7 separate regions of the Homo sapiens genome follow, and all the other regions are linked to region 3. Evidence: promoter capture Hi-C in 16 types of primary human blood cells and fetal thymus (Javierre and others, 2016). All regions are on one chromosome and are shown on one strand. Each heading gives the region's core, a stretch centred on a gene start or on the middle of the fragment in contact. The rest is flanking DNA. Distances are from core to core; before and after follow the strand shown.

Region 1 (2,871 bases), core at 251-2,750, 400 kb after region 3:
AACCCCGCCTCTACTAAAAAAATACAAAAATATTAGCCGGGCGTGGTGGCGGGTGCCTGTAGTCCCAGCTACTCGGGAGGCTGAGGCAGGAGAATGGCGTGAACCTGGGAGGTGGAACTTGCAGTGAGCTGATATCATGCCACTGTGCTCCAGCCTGGGCAACAGAGCGAGACTCTGTCTCAAAAAAAAAAAAAAAAAAAAAAAAAAGAAAAGAAAAAATTCAGTGATATAGTGGTTAAAAGTACAGAATTTTGAGAGTACATCACTACAACTTCCTAGATATGTTATTTGGGAGAACATATTTAATTTTTCTATATCTCAGTCTCTTTTTTGTAAAATGGGAAGAGAGATGCCTAACTTTTCAGTATTCTTGAGTTAAATGAAAGTGTCTAATTTTTGCAGTATTCTTGGATTAAATGAAAGTATTTATAGCACACAGCATGATATGTAGCAGGTAATAGAAGCCTATAAATAATATTTCCCTTCCCTTTTATGGCCCTTCCTAAATGCCAAGAGATGGATGGCCACGAGTTTCTTTATGTGTCCTTCTTGCTCTCAATTTAGATGGAGACATGGCTGCTTGGAAATTGTCCTTAAAGGAACCACAGGTTGGTACAGAAGTGAAAGTACTATAATTTGGAAGATCTTCAAAAAAACTCTTTTGACATTGTGGCATGTAATTTCCATACCTTTTTCCTACGTGTATATAAAGAATGTAATATCTTCTGTCTTTGAGCAATTATAAACCCTCAGGATGAAAGAGGCAGAGTGATAGTACAAACAAATAAAACTTCATAACAAACAAGCAAACATAGACCTCTCATGTGGTTCTTGGGGTTTTCAACAGCTCTGAACTTGCATTTGCTTCAAGCACTGCCCAGTTCTAAGAGACTGTAATTGAATATACATTGTTCGATTTTTGTTTTTTGCACTAGTCCCATTACAGAGCTATAAGCATAGAAATAGAATGACCATGTCCACCCTGTTGATCAGTCTTTTCTTTCAGCAAATGAGTACTGTGATCCCACTATGGACCATATCCTATATCATGGGTGCTGAGATGAAGGGCAGAGTCCCTGTCCACACAGTACTCTCAGACTAATGTCAGCACACAGCCCCCACCCCATCTTGAGTCCCAAAATTCAGCTGTGATGTTGCAGACAAGCTGGAGACTTTCAGATAAGATAACAATACAAACAGCAGCAGTAGTAGCAGCTTCTACTTAGGAGGGCTTACTAATATGACAGAATCTACTCTAGACCCTTTACATTTTCTGTCTCTGATTCTCTCCATACCTCTGCAAGACAAGTATGGTCACTACTTTTTTTTTTTTTAACTGCACTGAAGAGAAAAAGAAAAAAGTGATTTGCTTAAGGTAGTGCAGTCAGTGAGTGACTGAGCCAGAATTACATAACAGGGTTCCCTTTTCCTCTGGGGACCAAGAGAGCTTATGGAAGGACATGGGCCATTTCTCAGCAAGATGACACTGCACAGCCACAGGCCAATGACTTGGCATTGCTTTGGCCCAGGAAGTTCAACTCAGAGAAGTAGACTCAAGCAGCCCAGGAATTTTAGGTCCGGAAAAGTCATGTTTCCTCAGAGATGCTTGCTTTTGTCAAGCCACGGGTTCTGACAGGGCTATATTCTCAGACCATTCAGCTCATCCTCAATCTTTAGTACCTACCAGACACAAGGTTCACCCATCTTGATACAGTGAGACACAGAAGAAAAAGCCAGGGCTTGAGTTTGTCTGAGCCTCAGTTTCCTCAGATGTAAAAAGGATATGAGAATATACCCTTCTACACAAGAATGATGTGATAACGAAATAAATTATCTAAATGGCCTGGCACATGGTAGATACTTAAGAAATGCTCATTCTCGTTCATTTAATATTTATTGAGTGTCTACTATGAGCCAGTCACTCTTGTTGGTGCTTAGAACATACCAGTCAGCAAAACATGCAACAGATTGTTGCCTTTATGCAGATTACATTCAAGGGTAGGGAAGCAGTTCTTACCCGACTCTACTTTATGTGCTTCCTTGCCAGGCAATGACAAAGGAACTTGCCTCCTGGTGAAGCCTACAACCTGTGGGACTGGAGGAGATCTCCCCTCCTCTTCCATATGTGTTAAATGTTGCAATCAGAAAGACCCTTGGAAACTCCACTCTGGGGCATTTGTTACACTGTAAATCCCTTGCCCTAACCTTATTCCGTCCCACAAACCAATTTAGAGAGCTGAGACCTTGGATATCTCATCAGACCAGATGGACGAGAAAATCATCTAGGGAGAGGAAATTCAACAAACATATGCTGAATACATCTCTATGCAGAGTCCTATGCTTCTGGTGCTGAGAAACAGGCTGAAGCACATACACAGTTTATTTCACAACTTATTTGGAAGATAATTCTTTTCTGAATTAAATTATGATCTATGGTCTTTTTTCTTTACTCTCAACTTAGTGTGTTTGTGTATGTACATGTCTAACTGCAGAAGTAGGAAGTATGATGATGGGGATGTTGTCTGTGAATCCAACGAGAATGTTACAAAATATATGGTGTATGCACTGCAGTGCCTTTCTAAAAATCCAAAAAGAAATTCTGAATCCTGATCACATCTAATACCAAGGACTTTGGATAAGGACCTTTAGTACTAATTTCCTTATTTTGCCTGGGAAGCTGAGCTTCAAGGAACCTAAGGAACTTGTCCAAAGTTACACAGCTAATAAGTAACAGAATCAGGATTTGAGCCTGGGAAGTTTGACTTAAGAACCTGTATTTGTGGCCTTTATATTACTCTGCCTTCTTATTCCTTGAACTATTAATATGAGCCAGGAGCATTTTCTTCTTCCTCTTTCTTCTTAGTTTACTCT
Region 2 (2,949 bases), core at 153-2,652, 340 kb after region 3:
CATAAAGTGGAAACACTAATACCTACCTTTATAAGATTGTAGCAAGACTCAAATGAGGTAAATTATTGTGTAATAAAAATTTATGAAAAGGTAGCAAGGATATTATGCTTTTTTTTTTCTGTAACTATTCTGGCCTTGTCACTGTTATTCACTCCCTGTTAACTCCTTGAGCAAAGCTCTTCTCTCTTAGAATTGCATTTTCCTTCTTTGTATAATGAAGGAACTGGACTAAAGATGTAAAATAATTTTCATGTCAAATTGCCACTGTTAGGCATGGGTACTGGATTCATGGAGTGTTATAGTGAGATGGACAGAGACCAGCTAAGGAGTAAAGAGTTCTGTGATTGATTAGTGATGAAGGTCATGGAACCTTCACCATGTACAGGATGTACATGATGTCATGGAACGTTCACCATGTACAGGATGGAACAATGGGAGACTATGTGCCACATATTTGTGATCCTCAAACTCCATCACTTCTTTAATTTACTTTAAATCTAACCATTGGATTTTAAGAAGTAGTGGAAGTTTACTAGAAACAGAACTAATAAAGAAGTCTAGGAAGTAAAGAAAACTAGAAAGAATAACTGAACATCTAGACTCTTGGGATCTAGTCTTAGTTCTGTTGAGAATTTGCTGTATAGTCTTGGGCAACTAAATCCTCATTTTTTGTGCTTCAGTTTTCTCCTCTGCATGGTGAAGGTGCCAGAATCATTGTTAGGATTCTTGAAAAAAATAAAATAAAAATACAGATATGAACAAAAATTAAGTTATAAGGATAAACATCGCAGTACTATTTATACTAGCAAGAATGTAGAAACAGCTAAATGTCCAACTACATAGAAATGGCTATATCAATTGAGTTCAATGATGCAATAGGCTATTTTATAGTCATTAAAAATAATCTGTGAAAGAATATGAAAGGATATTTATGACATAATGTGAAGTTAAAAACAGGTTACACTATTACAAAATAATCTCATTTTTGTAGAAATTTTATATGCACATGCATTTAAAAACAGAAGGAAGAAAATAAAAACAAATGTTTAAGGTGGACTGTCTGGAGAGTGACATAATGGGCACTTTTTCTATCTTATTTTTGCTTATCTCTATTTTAAAAATTATCTTCAATAAACATATATTGCTTTTGTAACCCATAAAAATATCAATAAAAATTACTTAAAAATAGATAAAGTAAATGGGCCAGACTAAATGGCCTCTAAGTTCCCCTCTAATTCTAAAATTGGATGATCTAGGAAAAAAACTGACATATGAGGTATTTTTATACCGCACAGTATAAAATGATATGAGGCCTCTCAACTGTTGTTTTCTTCTTTTCTTCATGCCTGATAGAGAGTTCCTCAGAGCTCTATTCATGTACAGCCCCACTAATAAACCAGAAAAGGGTGCCAGCTCCATTACATCCTCTCTACCTGGGGTTAAGAACAAGACAATGTCATGAAACCATAAAAGAACAATAGTGTTGGCTCGTGTTTCAGAAGATTAGGACTCAGAGCAGCTTGGTGGTGCTTCTCTACCAAGGAACTGGTTGAGCAGAATATACAGATCACTTCCTGTTGGTCTTTCAAAGAAAAGTTTCATTCTTTATTTTATTTATTTATTTATTTTTTAATTTTAATTTTAATTTTTTTGAGACAGGGTCTCATTCTGTTGCCAAGTCTGGAGTGCAGTGGTGCAACCTCAGCTCATTGAAGCCTCTGCCCCGCAGGCTCAAGAGGTCCTCCCACCTCAGCTTCCCAAATAGCTGGTACTACAGGCATGCACCACCACACCCAGCTGACTTTTGTATTCTTTGTAGAGATGGGGTCTTACCCTGTTGCTCAGGCTGGTCTCAAACTACTGAGCCTTGGCCTCCCAAAGTGCTGAGATTATAGGCATGAGTCACTGTGCCTGGCCCAAAAGTTTCATTCTTAAAGAAAAACAGTTTTAAAAAGAAGAGTTTCATTCTTCGTCTCACAAGTGAATCTTGCAAGACTTATCTGACTGAATTGGCCAGATGGCCCTGGGATTCAGCCGAACAACAGTTCTAGAAGGTATTTGCTCCTTTAGTCCAATAGAGCAGGTCTTGATGGGTACTGTTTCTTGGTTTCTATTTTTCACGAAGACAATACATGGTTCATAGACTTGACGCGTAGATGCTAGATTTAGGATCAAGTGTCTAAATCAGGGTAGTGTTGGCAACAGGCAATTTCAGCTGCCACTGCAAGACAGACCTGAGACTGAGTACTAATTCCACCATGGGCTGCAAGTCCTTAAACTTCTCAATGTCTCCATTTTTCTTTTTGTTACAAGGAGTTAACAGCACTCTCATGCATTTGGAGTCTACAGAGTAAAGCCAAGGGTCTAGAAAGAAACAAAGATGCCTAGAACCAGAGGTTTGTCTGGAAAATGAAGATGTGAATGAATCTTTTATTCAGCATAATTTTGGCATCCCACATTTCTTCTGTAGGCCTCTTATATCAGTTTCTTTCATAGTACAACCAGAAACTAACAATATGTCCATTTCAAAAAATATCACAAATTCCAGAGCAATGTATGTGATAAAAAGTAAAAAAAAAAAAAAAAAAAAAAAAAAAAAAAGGGGGCATTGGTGGTGAGGGTGAGGGTAGGGGAGAGAAAAGACATGAGATTATTCACTAGATGGAGTGAGGGTCTTATTTCACTTGGGTACTCAGGATTCCAAGTCTGGCTACATGTGTTTGTTTTCTTTGAGCTTGGGTCCATGTCTGTCTGCTTTTCAATTTGTTTCCAGATAGCCAATGAGAGAGCTGGATCTTCATGAGTGTATTAGTCATTATCACATTGCTATGAAGAAATACTTGAGACTGGGTAACTCATAAAGAAAAGGGATTTAATTGACTCATGGTTCTGCATGGCTAGAGGGGCCTCAGGAAACTTACAATCATGGCGGAAGGCACCTCTTCACAG
Region 3 (2,700 bases), core at 78-2,577:
TTTTATCACTACCTTATTGGAATAGATTGGTAATTAATAGCTTGTAATCCACCATTGCTAACATGTTTTGACTTATTAAACACTTGGACAAAATAAAAGAAGATCTGTTTTGCCATAAGGGGGAGCTTTTGAGTTCTATAAAGAGGGGGAAAAAAGAAGAAAAAAATATATTACATGTATGTCCCAGTTCAAAAACAGACCTACAAAGCAGCAAATGGTCAGATCCTTACCTGTGACTTTAACAATTTCAGAGGACCTGAATTGCTTAAGTTGAAAACATTAGGCAAATTAATATTTTTCTCTCATTTTCTTCTTATAAAATTAAAATAATTTCTAATGACCAACAGAGTATTTTAAAGAGTATTCGGGGAAATTCAGAGACCCAGTTGTACTAGGACTACAGCTTCTGAAAGGCAGATGTCCTGGACAGTGCCTTTCTTCTATTTTCTTCTGATGATTCCATAAGAACTTTGGAAACATTTGGGTTAGCTGAAGCCAGCCTTATCTGGGGGCTCAGAAAAGAGGGGAATGGTTCATCATCGTACAACTTTAAGGAAATTCTGAGAGGGAAAAGGACAGGGAAAAGAAGAGGGAAAGAGGTAAAGGGAGAGGAAGCGGGAAGAAGAGTAAGGGAGAGAGTGAGAAAAAGAGAAAGAGAGGGAGAGGGAGGGAGGGAGAGACAGAGAGAGAGAATTAAAAAAAAAAATCTAAGAATCAAGTTTCAAGACTCTTTATGTGCTACAGAAAAGGATGAGGTTTACCAGCAAAGTGCAAAGGGGATCCTAAGAGAAGAGACAGATTTTTCTCCTGCCATCAGAAATAATAATAATAAGTGGGGGGAGTGAGGGAGGGAAAAAAAGCAAGCAAAACAAAACAAAAACAGGAATGTGTGTTTTGAGCAGGAATGAGAGCTGGGAGGACCGTAAGGGGGTGTGTACAGAATTTCATTAAATTGTTACTTTAAGATTGTCTCCTTAAAAAAAAAAAAAAAAAAAGAGAGAGAGAGAGAGAGAGAAAAGGAGGGGGTGGTGGAGAAGCGGGAGCGAAGGAAAGGAGGCAAAAGGCAAAGTGAAGGAAAGCTGGATAGCTCGGCCTCTCCAAACTGATTGATTAGTCATGATCCCCGCAGTTTTAACAGGGACTCATTCAATTGGGAAGGTGGAGCGCTGGGGAGCAGATTAGCATACGCTTGTTTACTCATCTTCTGAGGGATTTTTTCCCCCTCTTTCCTTTCATTTTGAGAAGAAGGAGGGAGGGGAGGGGGGACTTGGGGGGGGAGAAGGGGGCTGTGGCTTGTGTTATAAAGGACGCAAAAAATAAATAAATTAGAGCATCTTTTGGGGGGAGGGAATTCAGCGGATCAGTCTTAAGAGGAGCTTTTTTTTGGAGCGAGAAATCATATAAAATAAAATGAAATAAAACAAGGAGGAAGGCAACCAGCTGTTAGGGGAAAAATAAGGCAGATAAAGGAGCGGGGAGAGAAATTAATTGCCAACCAGGAGGAGTTGGGCTGTATTTTTCAAAGGTGGGGAGAGTGGAGCACACACCTTGAGGAGGAAAGCGAGAAAGAAAAGAAAAAAGCAAGTGGAAAGGGGGGCTCGCCCAAGAAGGGTGAAGAAGCGAAGAAAGTCGAGGCGCCGAGGCTCCCAAAGCTGGCAGCTCCGGGTGGCGGTGCAGGGGCGAAGGGGGGGCGGGGGGAACCGTCGGACATGCGGCTCTGGAGTTGGGTGCTGCACCTGGGGCTGCTGAGCGCCGCGCTGGGCTGCGGGCTGGCCGAGCGTCCCCGCCGGGCCCGGAGAGACCCGCGGGCCGGCCGACCCCCGCGCCCCGCCGCCGGCCCGGCCACCTGCGCCACCCGGGCGGCCCGCGGCCGCCGCGCCTCGCCGCCGCCGCCGCCGCCGCCGGGCGGTGCCTGGGAAGCCGTGCGCGTCCCCCGGCGGCGGCAGCAGCGGGAGGCGAGGGGCGCCACCGAGGAGCCGAGCCCGCCGAGCCGGGCGCTCTATTTCAGCGGGCGAGGCGAGCAGCTGCGCCTCCGGGCCGACCTCGAGCTGCCCCGGGACGCGTTCACGCTGCAAGTGTGGCTGCGAGCGGAGGGGGGCCAGAGGTCTCCGGCAGTGATCACAGGTAGGTGAGGGCGCCTCGGCGGGCGCTGCACCGTCCCTGCGGCCCCAGAGGCTCGCGGGTGTCTGGGCGCGGGTGGCGGGCGGGTCGGGGGCTTGCGGGCGTGTCTGTGCGAGAGCTGCCCCGCGAGCGGCGCAGAGACATCCGGGCGAGCTGAGAGCCTCACTTTGCTCCATCGGTGGAATGGGCACACTCGGAAGGCGTAGCTGCTCCATCCCTGGGAGGAACCTGGGGAGCCCTCCTGGCGGCCCCGCGGACCCTCGGCCAGTGAGGGCTGGTTCCCGGAGCCTAGGGCACGTAACCCGTGCTCCGAATGGTCAGATGCACTCTCTCCTTTTGGGATGAAAGGGAGGATGACCCAATTGAGATGCATGTGAAAGGAGACTTGGGGACCGTTGATTTCTTTGACGTTTTAATGGAGGTAACTCCCCTTCATTAGGCCCCATTCCCCTGAAAGCCGGCAAGGGCAAGGTTGTTGTAATGGCCAGGACTTAGAAGTCCTCGAAGTGCCCCAAAGTTGCTCACTGATTGAAGCCTGCCTCTGGGACTCACCCTCACCCCCTCCACGCCATCCCATGT
Region 4 (2,825 bases), core at 257-2,756, 490 kb after region 3:
ACTGTGAAGCTATAATGCCTGCTTTGCTCCTCAGGGTATCCCAAGTGCCCAGAACAGTGTCTGGCCAATAGGAGCCCCTTAGTCAATACTTGTTCAAATGATGTAAATGGAATTCTCACTCTTCAGCCATCTCATACATATACCCCCCATCTAACTGACACTGACCCTCTTAGTTTAGTATTCTACAACATTTGAGTCAAGAATATGGATCTATTCTCCAGGAGAAAAATATAAGTAATGTATAATTCTGCAAAAACTTTCTAGGGATGAGCATCCAAAGATCCTATAAAGTCAAGGATCCCCAAATGCCAAATTAACAACCCTTGCCATAAAATCAGTCCTGGTCCCCGCAATTCATCTTCTGTTGCTATAGTTGCTACTCTAAGACTCAAATCTAGTTATATTTTTCCTTGACCTACAATCTTGAAAGACTCTATATGGTTTGCACAGCACCCGAATTTTACAACATGGCATTCAAAGTTGCCCACAATGCAGCCTTCTGCCTATCCCTTTTCCAGTTTTATTTCTACCAAATCTTTCAGGCCTGTTGCAAGAATGGCTGACTGAACACAAAAGCTTTGGACTCAGACATTCTGGGTTTGAATTCTCACCCCACAATTCACTAGCCATGTTATCTTAAGTAAATTATTCACCTCTCTGAAGTCTCAGGTTTTTGTTTTTTAATTTGTAAAGTAAGCATAATAGTGAATACTTCAAATGTGTTGTAGGGGGACAGAGTAAGAGAACATATATAAATACACATGAAGCACTTTTTTAAATGCCAGGCACATAGTTGGCACTCGATAATTGTTAGGTTTTATTCTTCTATTCTTCTATTCTACATGCTCAGCACATAGTATTGACACATTTTTCTGTCTCCTGCTTTTCCAATATTGCTTAGTCTAGACCGGGGTTTGGCAAACCTTTCCTGTAAAGGACTAGAAAGTAAACACTTTGAGCTTTGCACCCCATACTGTTTTCTGTAGCTACTACTTAATTCTGCTGTTGCAGCAGGAAAGCAGTTATAGATGATACGTAAATCAAGATATGTGGCTATGTTTCATAGACTTGATTTATAAAAATAGGAAGCAGGCTGGATGTGGCCCATGGGCCATAGTTTTCCAACTTTGGTCTAGACTAGCTTTGAAATCTTACAGACCTGGGTTCAAGCTTCTCTGGGGTTCCATCTCCTTATCTGTTAGATAAGGATAATAATAGTACTTCCCTCATAAGTTGTTGGATGATTAAATTAGATAAAGCATGTAAAGTCCTTAGCACAGTTTTTGGCACATAGTACATATATATGTATCTGATGGATATTATTGTCTTCATCATCAAAAAACTTGCTTTGCAGTTCTACTATGTGCCCATATCCACCTTCCCTTCTTTAAGAATTGTTTCCAGATTCTCCCTCTCAGAGTTTCTTTCTCTCTTCTAACACTATTGGAATGTCTATTGCACTATTCAAAAATAAATCATGCATTTGTGTAGCATATGTAAGTAATTATAGTAGCATATGTGTCCTTGTTACTAGACTGTGTGCTCCTTGAAGGCACAGTCTGTGTCTTGTTCCTCTCTATAGCACATTTTCTAACACAGTATCTGGCACACAGTAGGCAACCAATGCAAGATAATCACAGTGATGGGGCTATAGCGAGGGTGATGCTGGTAGTGATAGTAGTGGTGTAGCATAGTGGTGGCGGTAGTGGTCATGGTTGTAGTGATGGTAGGTACTGGTAATAACTGGGGGAGGGGGTGAGACTTGGCTGTTAATTTCTCTTCAAAGAGTAGTTATTTGGAATTCTCTTCTCAGTTGGAGCCAAAAAGTGGAAATGAAACAAACAAGCTTTTCTGGCAGAGAGAAAGAATCTGCTGGAAGGTCAGACAACCACAAGACTAGAATTACACATGACTCTTCCTAGAGCAGCATGAACAGAAAATGCTCACAGGATTGGAAGTCTGAAAACCCGAGGGCTGGAAAGAACCATTCAGATCTACAGAGTATTTTACAGCCTTCAAAACATTGAAAGTCTCTTAATTTTTCTACAGACAGCTGTGGGGAAAGTTACCACCACCCATTTCCCAGATGAGAAAACTGAGCCTTGGAAAAATAAAAGATATTTCCAAGGGTTGAAGGCATGTCTTACTTCAAATTCAGCCTTGGCTATGTGACCTGAAAAAACTCAGTCCTCAGCTCTGTTCTTAGTTTTACTATCTGTAAAATAAAGAGGTTGATTTGTAAAATAAACAGGATAAGATTTTAATAGCCCTATCTGCTCATAAATGCTATGTCATTGTGTGCCACTGGTATGGAGTGCAAGATATGTATATCTTTCTCCTCCCAGTATTAAATTTAAGGAGTAAAATTGGCATTGTCTCTGAATGGGAAACAAATTTCAGGTCACAGGATGCCTCTTCCAACCTCAAAAGATTTGCTTTATATTCTGGGTAGAAGTTAGAGCTGACCTTATCACAGTGCCAAAGGGGACCTTGGATGAAGTTAGCCTGCTTTTCTCATCATACAGATAAAGAAATGGAGACCTAGACAGTAGAAGCATGTCCAATGTCATATAATAATCAAGGACAGAGCCTAGTTCAGATTCCTAGTGTCTCCGTTTTCTAGTTTTCCCAAAGAAAACTCCCAACCCTGAGATGAAAAGGGATAAATACTAGATTGCCTACTTTACAAATAAGTAAAAGTCAGATCACATAGACAGTAAATGGCAGAGAAGGGATTCAAATCCAACTCTGTCTGGCTCTTTAGTATGCCACTCCTCTGCCTCCTCCACTTGGAAGACTCTCTTTCACCCAGGAGCTAAGTTAAC
Region 5 (2,700 bases), core at 66-2,565, 440 kb after region 3:
CCACTTCACTTCACAGATACAGAAACTGAGGCCCATAGATGGGAATCTCAAGATCACAAAGGGATTCAGCATTAGAAGCAAGTCTCCTACAACCCATTCATGGATCTTTTCCCTTCATAATGTTGCCTTCCTTCTCCCAGTGATAAAGGTGAGATGTGGATGAAGTCTAACAATGAGCTGTGCATCAGAATGTCATGGTCTAAAATTTTTCAGGCAATGATTAACATTAATATCTGCCTTGCAAATGGACTCAGCAGCTGGGACAAGGCAGATGTGGCAACACAAATATGTTGCCCATGACACATGAATTGGAAGAGTGGGGTGGAGGCAGCTCTTGAGTGAAGGAACAAAAGAAAAGCCTGTCTGTCTGGAATGCAATGGGAATGAAGATTCCAAGGAGGTCATTTAGGGAGAAGCAGTGCCTGAACCCCAGACAAGGCTGGGTGCGGTAACATCTGTGCTTTTGCAAGGGAAATAAAAGGGAATCTGCTTCCCTGCCTGAAGGGATGATATATGGGCTTCTGAGGCACTGGGCGTGGGCCGAAGGCATGATACAGGGCTTGATGGATGAAGGCTGAGGTAACTCAGTAGGCCACACATTAATAAAAATTATCAAACTGTCCCAGTTGGTGGAGTAGAATGCTAATGCCATTCTCCACATGTATGTTAAAGGAAGAGAATGTCTGAAGGGAGGTAACCTGCTTTTTATCTTTACCTTCATTTCACTTGTCCAAATTATATCCTCTGTTCTGCTGCCAAGATCCTATGCAAGCCAAGTCTGGCAGAGCCTACTCTATACTACAACCACCTGTGATAGTTCACCTGCATCTAGCCATTCTTAACTGAGAATGAGAAGTGTATTCTAATCACAACTTAGCCCCATAAACAACTTTCATCACTCTCAAGTGCCCAAAGAATCAACTTCAGATATCATAACCTAGCCTTCAAGGCTTTCATCCGCTTGACCATGAATTCCAGTCTTGCTCATTCTATACTTCTCCAGACACCTTTCATTTCCATCTTCATGATTTTCTTGCTTTATGCTCTTCCATCTGTCTGAATTTCCTCTTACTTGTTCTCTATTATTGAAATCCCTTCCATCCTTCCAGGTTGAGATGAAAGCCCACTTTATTCACAAAGGCCGCACATCCTTAGCCTCTGATTTCAGCCTCAATTGCAATGGACAGTTCCAATGTGAGTTCAAACTCACTTTGCGCTGCCCCAAGACCTACCTCCTTGAATATATGCCAGGTATATCTTTGCACTTCCTGCCCCAAGGCCTTCAATGATGCCGTGGGACCTCTCTCAGCTCATATGAGCAAGTATAGCCTAGAAGTTTAAGAAACATCAATCTTTAAACAATTGAGATAGGGAGCTAGAGAAGACATAATCTAGCTTTGCATCTTTAAGCCAGCAAGAGCCTCAATACATCAATAGTAATCTTGTGAACACATCCCTGTACTGGCTTTTTCCCCTTCTGGGTCCTGTTCATGATCCTTCATAACTGTTTCCTATGGATACCTACCTAATCTGTGCTCAAGCTCTGTTTTAGGGTTATCAAAACAAAAACAGAATGAGTACACATCTTCTACCTTGAATTACAGCTAGACCTGTCTCTGGAATTTCCCCAGTAATTAGAACTAGTAGTCAATAATTGTTTGTCAGCTAGAAATAAATTTTAAAATACAAGCCACTAGTATCAACTCTACATGTGGAGAAGAACCTCACTTATAAACTATATAATTATCAAGACTGTCCACGTAGCTAATAGTAGGTGAGGAACATCAGAAGAGTCCAGTCTCACTGACATTCGATTTTGCAGTCACTTTATGTTCAGCCAGTTAACAGTACTCATTGGATGTCATTTCCATCACCTCTGCTTCCCTATTTTATGGGCCCAGAACTCCTTTGAGAAGCTCAGCTGCTGCAGAACAGCCAGATCTGACCTTCCTAAGGCATGATTCATCATGCATTGATGACAGAACATCTGCACCCAATGTATGAAACATGGTGACTCGCAGTGTCTGGCTCAGGATATGACCTGGCTCAGAGCTTAAGTCTTCCCATGATTTCTGTCTTGAAAATAGCTCCTAGCATGGTCCCCATACCCTCAGCCAAAAGCACATCCCCCTCAAGTTTTTTTCATTATACTCTCCTCTCCTTTTATTAAAATAAATAAATACATAGGTACATACATACATACACACATACATACATAATTTCCCCTTCAGGGATTCCTTGGAAGCCATCAAGAGTAGGGATAAAGAGCAGAATTTCTGAGTGAGAAAGAATTAGGTTCAAGTTCAAACTTAATACTTCTATGCCCTTAAGTAAGTGACTATGCCCCCTCTAAACCTGAGTTTTCCCACATGTGAAATGAAGATAATACTAACTAATTTTCAGAACAATTTTGATGATTATATAGGATAACTTGGCATCTAGGTGTTCAATAAATGCTGACTATCTTCTCTTTCCCTTTAATAGCTTTACACTTCCCACAATGCTTACAAAATTTCTGGTATGGTGTAGGTACTTAACAAATGTCATTACTCTTGCTTCATTCTTGTTGTTGCTGTTGTTGTTGTTGAGACGGAGTCTCACTCTGTTGCCCAGGCTGGAGTGCAGTGGTGTGATCTCGGCTCACTACAACCTCCACCTCCCAATTCAAGAGATTCTCCTGCCTCAGCCTCCTGAATAGCT
Region 6 (2,930 bases), core at 128-2,627, 370 kb after region 3:
GCCAGAAACACCTTTCCCTTGCAGGCTTTCACTGCTTTCTGAGAGGCAGCCTGGTGTAATGGAAAGAGCTCTATATTTGGAGCAAGATGACATGAGTTCCAGTTCAGCTTTCCTGCTCTGAGTTGAATGACCCTTAAACTCTCTGAGTCTCAGTTTCCTTCCCTGCCCAAAAGGCATAAAAACTCGTACTCCCTTGGTGTTTTGTGAACTGAAATGTTGGCAGAATCACTTTGAAAACCATAAAGTTCCCTGTACAATGTTGAAAACTTATTAGTACCTTTCTGATCTGCTGGGATGTGAGCCCCTCACATGACTTTCACATGAAAGTTGGCATTCCTTCTCAGGGTTACATGGCCAAGGTACCCATTCCTCTCTGTAGAGATATGCCTGTTCTGTCTCTAAGCAGCCTAGGCATCTCTGATCCAAAAAAGCTTCAACTTCCAAAATTCATAAGCTCCAACAAAAAGAGAACTGAAGAGGAGAAGTGGAGCACTGGTATAAAGATACCTGAAAATGTGGAAGTGACTTTGGAACTGGGTAACAGGCAGAGCTTGGAATAGTTTGGAGGGCACAGAAGAAGACAGGGATATGTGGAAAAGTTTGAAACTTCCTAGAGACTTGTTGAATGGTTTTGACTGAAATGCTGATAGTAATATGGACAATGAAGTCCAAGACAAGGTTGTCTCAGACGGAGATGAGGAACTTATTGGGAACTGGAGCAAAGGTCACTCTTGCTATGCTTTAGCAAATAAACTGGTGGCATTTTGTCCCTGTCCTAGGGATCTGTGGAACTTTGAACTTTACATAAATGATTTAGAGTATCTCTGACAGAAGAAATGTCTAAGCAGTAAAGGATTCAAGAGGTGACCTGACTTTTTGGAACACATGTGGACAGTATGTGCTGTAGATCATGCTCCTTCTTGGGGCCCTCCCAACAGAGCGTAGGCTGCAGGGTGGAAGATGTGGCATAGGAGGAAGCACCAGAGCATGGGAGCAGGTGACTTCTTAGGAGTTAGGACTTCCTCATCGGCCCTCCCCTCATCCAGTCTGAGAGCCTTTGCACCACAGATGGCTTCTGCCCTTTTTGGCCACTGTCATATATATAATCAAGCATCAGATTGAAACTCACATCCAAAAGCTATGCATCTCATCTCTAATAGTGGTCCATGAATTTGAGTGATTGTGGTAACCTGGGGCAGCAGGCACAGGAGAATTATTAAGCAAGCCACCTGCCTTCAATAGCAGTGGCAGAAGAAGTATTGAGAATTCCCAGTGTGCCTTCTCACTCCTTTATCCTGCAGGTGCCAGCTTAAGCAAAACTCCTACTATACTGTCTCCTTGTTGAAAGGTCGTTAATAATTATCCATGGGCCTGAGAAAAATGTCAAAGCTCTTTACAGTCACCCTAAATAATGCAATCCCACTCACCATTCCAGACCCACTCTCTCCACAAACCATCCCTTACAGATTCATTCACAAACAGACCTCCCAATTTCACACCTCTCTGCTTTTTCCTATGCTATTCCCTCAACTTGGTAGATCATTTCACCTTATCCTCTTGCCTGTCCCCATTACAGTCCTTCTTATTGACATCCTACTCATTTCTAAGGTCCGGCTCAAGTGCCATCTTCTCTAGGAAGACCTCTGTTATCCAAAACCTCCTCACAGCCCACTTCATTTGTTCTTCTCTAATCCAGACCCAACCTCTGTTATTTGGTGTTGATTTCTTTCACAAAAAGGATAAAAGAAGGTTCATATTCACATATATGCTCCAGTTTCTTCTATATGCATGTGCACCACATTATGGAAACAGCTAAAAGCCCCTCTTTCCTTGCCTGTAATATGGGAATAATCATACCTACTCTGTGGGGTTGGTGTGAGTAGTAAATGTGACAAAAGACTGGGCACGGTGGCTCATGCCTGTAATCCCAGCACTTTGGGCGGCCAAGGTGGGAGGATCACTTGAGGCCAGGAGTTTGAGAGCAGCCTGGCCAACATGGTAAAACCCCGTATCTACTAAAAATACAAGAACAACAAAAAATTAGCTAGGTACAGTGGCTCATGCCTGTAATCCCAGCCACTTGAGAGACTCAGGTGGGAAAACTGCTTGAACCCAGGGGTCAGAAGTTGCAGTGAGCTGAGATCATGCCACTGCACTCCAGCCTGGGCAAAAGAGAAAGAACTTGTCTCAAAAAAAAAAAAAAGTGACAAAAGATGTGAAAGTAAATTTTAGTTTCAGAAATACTGCGAAAGTAAATTTTAGTTTCAGAAATACAATTTTTGATTCATCATGATTTTTAGTATGCATCCCTAGCAGATTTGTTTAAGCTTCTGATGAGCTCAGCCCGATATCTGTATCCTAGATGCTCAGATCCAATTCTGGCCCAAAGCAAGTGATTAGAGAATGTCTGATGACACAAAGACCAATGAAACAGAATAGCAAGTCCAGAAATAAATCCACACATTTACAGCCAACTAATTTTCAACAAAGGAGCCAAGAATACACAACAGAGAAAGGACAGTGTCTTCAATAAACGGTGCTGGGAAAGCTGGATATTGACATTCAGAAGAATAAAATTGGACTCTCACATCATGTACAAAAGTCAACTCAAAATGAAGCAAAGACTTAAATATAAGACCTGAAACTATAAAGTAACTAGAAGAAAACAGTGGAAAAGTTCCATCACATTGGTCTTGGCAATGATTTTTTAGATATGACCCCCAAAGCACTCACAACAAAGGCAAAAATAAACAAATAGGATTGCATCAAACTAAAATACAAAGGAAACAATCAACAGAGTGAAGACAAAATCTACAGAATGAGAGAATATATTTGCAATCCATACATCTGATAAGGGGCTAATATCTAAAATATATAAGTAATTTCAAAAACTTAGTAAGAAAACAAATTGTCCAATTAAAAAATAAGCA
Region 7 (2,700 bases), core at 47-2,546, 470 kb after region 3:
GTGTGTGTGTGTGTGTGTGTGTGTGTGTGTGTGTTTGGTTTTTGTAATAAATAGGAACTTGAGCTTGTGGAAAACAAAACAGGAAATCTCTCTGGACTTCATAAGTTTCACCATCCAGGCAGTTCTTGGGAAGAAATCCTGCCTGTAAGAATCCACATCCACTGGCTCTTTCCCAAAACCCCGAGGAACAGAATGGGGACTGGTGCAATGGCCAGGCAAACACTGGTTAGAACACAAACACACCCTGATAAAAGGCCAGCATCAAACAGGGAGTCCTCATAAGGCTGCAGAAGCCAGCACTGTGTCAATGCAGGATCACTCTTTCCTTACCTCTTCTGTCCTTGCAACACTCCATCCAGAGTCCAATTAGATCCCGGGGGAGGAAAATCATAGAATGTTCCAGCTTCACAGGACTCTGTAAATCATGTAACCTAATCCGTTTCACAGATGCAGATACAGTGACCCAGAGATGCTAGTTTGCTGGACCAAGGTGATAGAACAACTTCACGATGAAACTACTCTATCCCTCCGTTAAGTGCTCAAAATTACCCATTGAAATGGATGCTCAATACCCACTTACAGAAAAGCGTGCAGGAGCAGGGAGGGACTTGAACTAAAGCCCATTTGAATCCTTGTACCCTTGACCTTAGTAGGTCACACAGGAAGAATAAATGCCAAGATTTGATCCAAAATATCCTGTTCAGCCACTCTGCTTGGGTCATGTGCTTATGTGTGTGCATGTGTTGTTTGCATGCGTATGTGTCTCTGTGTGTTTGAGAGAAAATGAAACCTTATACTGGAGGCATTATTGCCTCCTAGTTTTTGAATAAGTAGAGGGACCTAAGAAACAAATTCTGTACTTAATGGCTACATTTGCATGGCCATTGGTTTTCATAACGAAGGTTTGCATTTCCATGACTTGTAAACGCTTCCAACTTCTGGCTAATTAGCTAGCAAACCAAGCTGGGCAACAGGAGAAAACAGCCACAAAAATATTAAGCAATCAAAAAAAACTAGGATGTATTTCTGACTCTCTTGTTACTTTCCTTTTTGAACTTGCATAAAAGATTCCTCGTTCTTAACCTCAATTTCCCTATCTCCAAATGAGGGGGTAGAAGATATGTTTTCTAAGGTTTAAGTTCAGTACACATTCACTGAACTTCCTACTTCATACCTTGTGCCTTCCAGAAACTAAGAAAGGGAATGAACAAGACCAAGTCACTAACTTCAAAGGATCCGTGGCTTATTAGCAAAGAGACACACACAAACAATTACAATTACTATAGTTCAAATGCTATGAAGTAATACACATAGAAGGCTATGAGAATACAGAAGGAAGGGGGCTCTTCTAGCTCTAAAACTATGACAATATCTTAGGAATTTTAAACTTTAGGTAAACACCCTCTACTTAAGATATTTAGAAACATCTACACAGAATGTCACTAAGCCCATGAATTAAATTCCACACTCTATACTTCAAATGACTGTAATTTTTACACTAAAAAATATTTTCATGTGCTAATACCAAGTCAGTTATTTTTGATACTAAGATGGTTCTGGTCTGTATGACTCCAAAAAGATGCTCTGAAGTCCTTATTAATGCCTAATGGATTTCATCTCCACGGTATTAACAAACTTGGTCATATGGCTGCTCAACCCATAACAAATGAAGCGGGAAAAGGCTTTCTAGAGAAAAAAAAAAAATCTATTATCTTTTTACCCACTGGCTCCATTTTAGGGCCAAACACAGTATCTAGCATTTAACATAAGGCAGTCAATGTTTGTTGAATTAAAAGTTCACATGGAATGCTGAATAAAACAAACCAAATAAATGATAAAAGCAAAGAAAATGTGTGTGCATGTTTGTGATCCTCTTCTTCCCCAGGATTACTTGTATCTCCCATGTCAGTTTGGTGCTTCTAGCCAAAAAGTGGTGGTCAACCCTCTACCTTATAAGGCATCTCAAAACCAACCTCCCAGCTGGGCACAGTGGCTCACACCTGTAATCCCAGCACTTTGGAAGGCCGAGGCGGGTGGATCACGAGGTCAGGAGTTCGAGACCAGCCTGGCCAACATGGTGGAACCCCATCTCTACTCTACTAAAAATACAAAACTTAGTCAGGTGTGGTGGTGGGTGCCTGTAATCACAGTTACTCGGGAGGCTGAGGAAGGAGAATAGCTTGAACCCGGGAGGTGGAGGTTGCAGTGAGCTGAGATTGCGCTACTGCACTCCAGCCTGGGCGACAGCAAGACTCCATCTTGGAAAAAATAAAGAAACCCTCCCCACTCTGGCCCCATTGCTGTCTCCCTGGTGCCGCCCATTCTATAGGCACTTGCCGTGGCCTTTGGACTAGTCTCCCCACTCTCATGTTGCCTTCTCCAGCATGTCCTCTCACAGCTTTCTAAAACACCTCTTGCTTGGAGCCTTTTGAATGTTCCACACTTTCTGGTTAAAGCCTCCACTGATTCAACCTCCTTTGTTCTTCAGCTTATGACTCTTCTCCCATCTCAACCCCCCTGCACCCCTCTCTGTGATCTAGCACATGCCAACTTCTTACAGTAGTGCATGCACTATTTCATACCCACAAGCCTTTTCTCATGCTGTGCCTTTGGTCTGAAGTGCCCTTTTTCCACTTCTTCCTCCTTACTGAACTCTAGGAAGGAGGTGTGGACCCTGCCACACCTTGAGAGATTTTGTCC

The links. Contacts are between HindIII fragments. The CHiCAGO score rates a contact against its expected background, and 5 or more counts as called.
Region 1: a contact is called between a fragment that was not itself captured here and the fragment with the promoter of PAPPA in region 3, in 4 of 17 cell types (M2 macrophages, M1 macrophages, megakaryocytes and 1 more). The highest score is 9.1, in M2 macrophages.
Region 2: a fragment that was not itself captured here is called in contact with the fragment with the promoter of PAPPA in region 3 in 2 of 17 cell types (M2 macrophages and M1 macrophages); the score reaches 11.4 in M2 macrophages.
Region 4: a fragment that was not itself captured here is called in contact with the fragment with the promoter of PAPPA in region 3 in 5 of 17 cell types (M2 macrophages, M1 macrophages, megakaryocytes and 2 more); the score reaches 15.0 in M2 macrophages.
Region 5: a contact is called between a fragment that was not itself captured here and the fragment with the promoter of PAPPA in region 3, in 1 of 17 cell types (M2 macrophages). The highest score is 6.3, in M2 macrophages.
Region 6: a contact is called between a fragment that was not itself captured here and the fragment with the promoter of PAPPA in region 3, in 1 of 17 cell types (M2 macrophages). The highest score is 6.2, in M2 macrophages.
Region 7: a contact is called between a fragment that was not itself captured here and the fragment with the promoter of PAPPA in region 3, in 2 of 17 cell types (M2 macrophages and M1 macrophages). The highest score is 6.9, in M2 macrophages.

The regions. Positions count from the first base shown.
Region 1 is chr9:116,557,043-116,559,913 of GRCh38, forward strand. All of the region lies in intron 19 of ASTN2 (astrotactin 2), which reads right to left. It overlaps ASTN2-AS1 (ASTN2 antisense RNA 1), which reads left to right. Exons shown (of 12, transcript NR_033973.1): 11 at 565-608. Among named protein-coding and RNA genes, the nearest start is that of ASTN2-AS1, 54 kb to the left of the region's middle. The HindIII fragment of the contact is 4,648 bases long and covers 1-2,871 here.
Region 2 is chr9:116,487,703-116,490,651 of GRCh38, forward strand. The region is part of intron 19 of ASTN2 (astrotactin 2); the gene reads right to left. Among named protein-coding and RNA genes, the nearest start is that of ASTN2-AS1, 15 kb to the right of the region's middle. The HindIII fragment of the contact is 6,694 bases long and covers 1-2,949 here.
Region 3 is chr9:116,152,464-116,155,163 of GRCh38, forward strand. It overlaps PAPPA (pappalysin 1), which reads left to right and starts at 1,328. Exons shown (of 22, transcript NM_002581.5): 1 at 1,328-2,124. The coding sequence starts at 1,710. The HindIII fragment of the contact is 9,307 bases long and covers 1-2,700 here.
Region 4 is chr9:116,642,400-116,645,224 of GRCh38, forward strand. All of the region lies in intron 17 of ASTN2 (astrotactin 2), which reads right to left. It overlaps LOC105376240 (a long non-coding RNA gene), which reads left to right. Exons shown (of 3, transcript XR_930277.3): 3 at 1,814-1,898. Among named protein-coding and RNA genes, the nearest start is that of TRIM32, 43 kb to the right of the region's middle. The HindIII fragment of the contact is 676 bases long and covers 1,169-1,844 here.
Region 5 is chr9:116,592,760-116,595,459 of GRCh38, forward strand. The region is part of intron 19 of ASTN2 (astrotactin 2); the gene reads right to left. Among named protein-coding and RNA genes, the nearest start is that of ASTN2-AS1, 90 kb to the left of the region's middle. The HindIII fragment of the contact is 5,700 bases long and covers 1-2,700 here.
Region 6 is chr9:116,524,433-116,527,362 of GRCh38, forward strand. All of the region lies in intron 19 of ASTN2 (astrotactin 2), which reads right to left. The region is part of intron 1 of ASTN2-AS1 (ASTN2 antisense RNA 1); the gene reads left to right. Among named protein-coding and RNA genes, the nearest start is that of ASTN2-AS1, 22 kb to the left of the region's middle. The HindIII fragment of the contact is 1,896 bases long and covers 430-2,325 here.
Region 7 is chr9:116,623,171-116,625,870 of GRCh38, forward strand. All of the region lies in intron 17 of ASTN2 (astrotactin 2), which reads right to left. The region is part of intron 1 of LOC105376240 (a long non-coding RNA gene); the gene reads left to right. Among named protein-coding and RNA genes, the nearest start is that of TRIM32, 63 kb to the right of the region's middle. The HindIII fragment of the contact is 4,425 bases long and covers 1-2,700 here.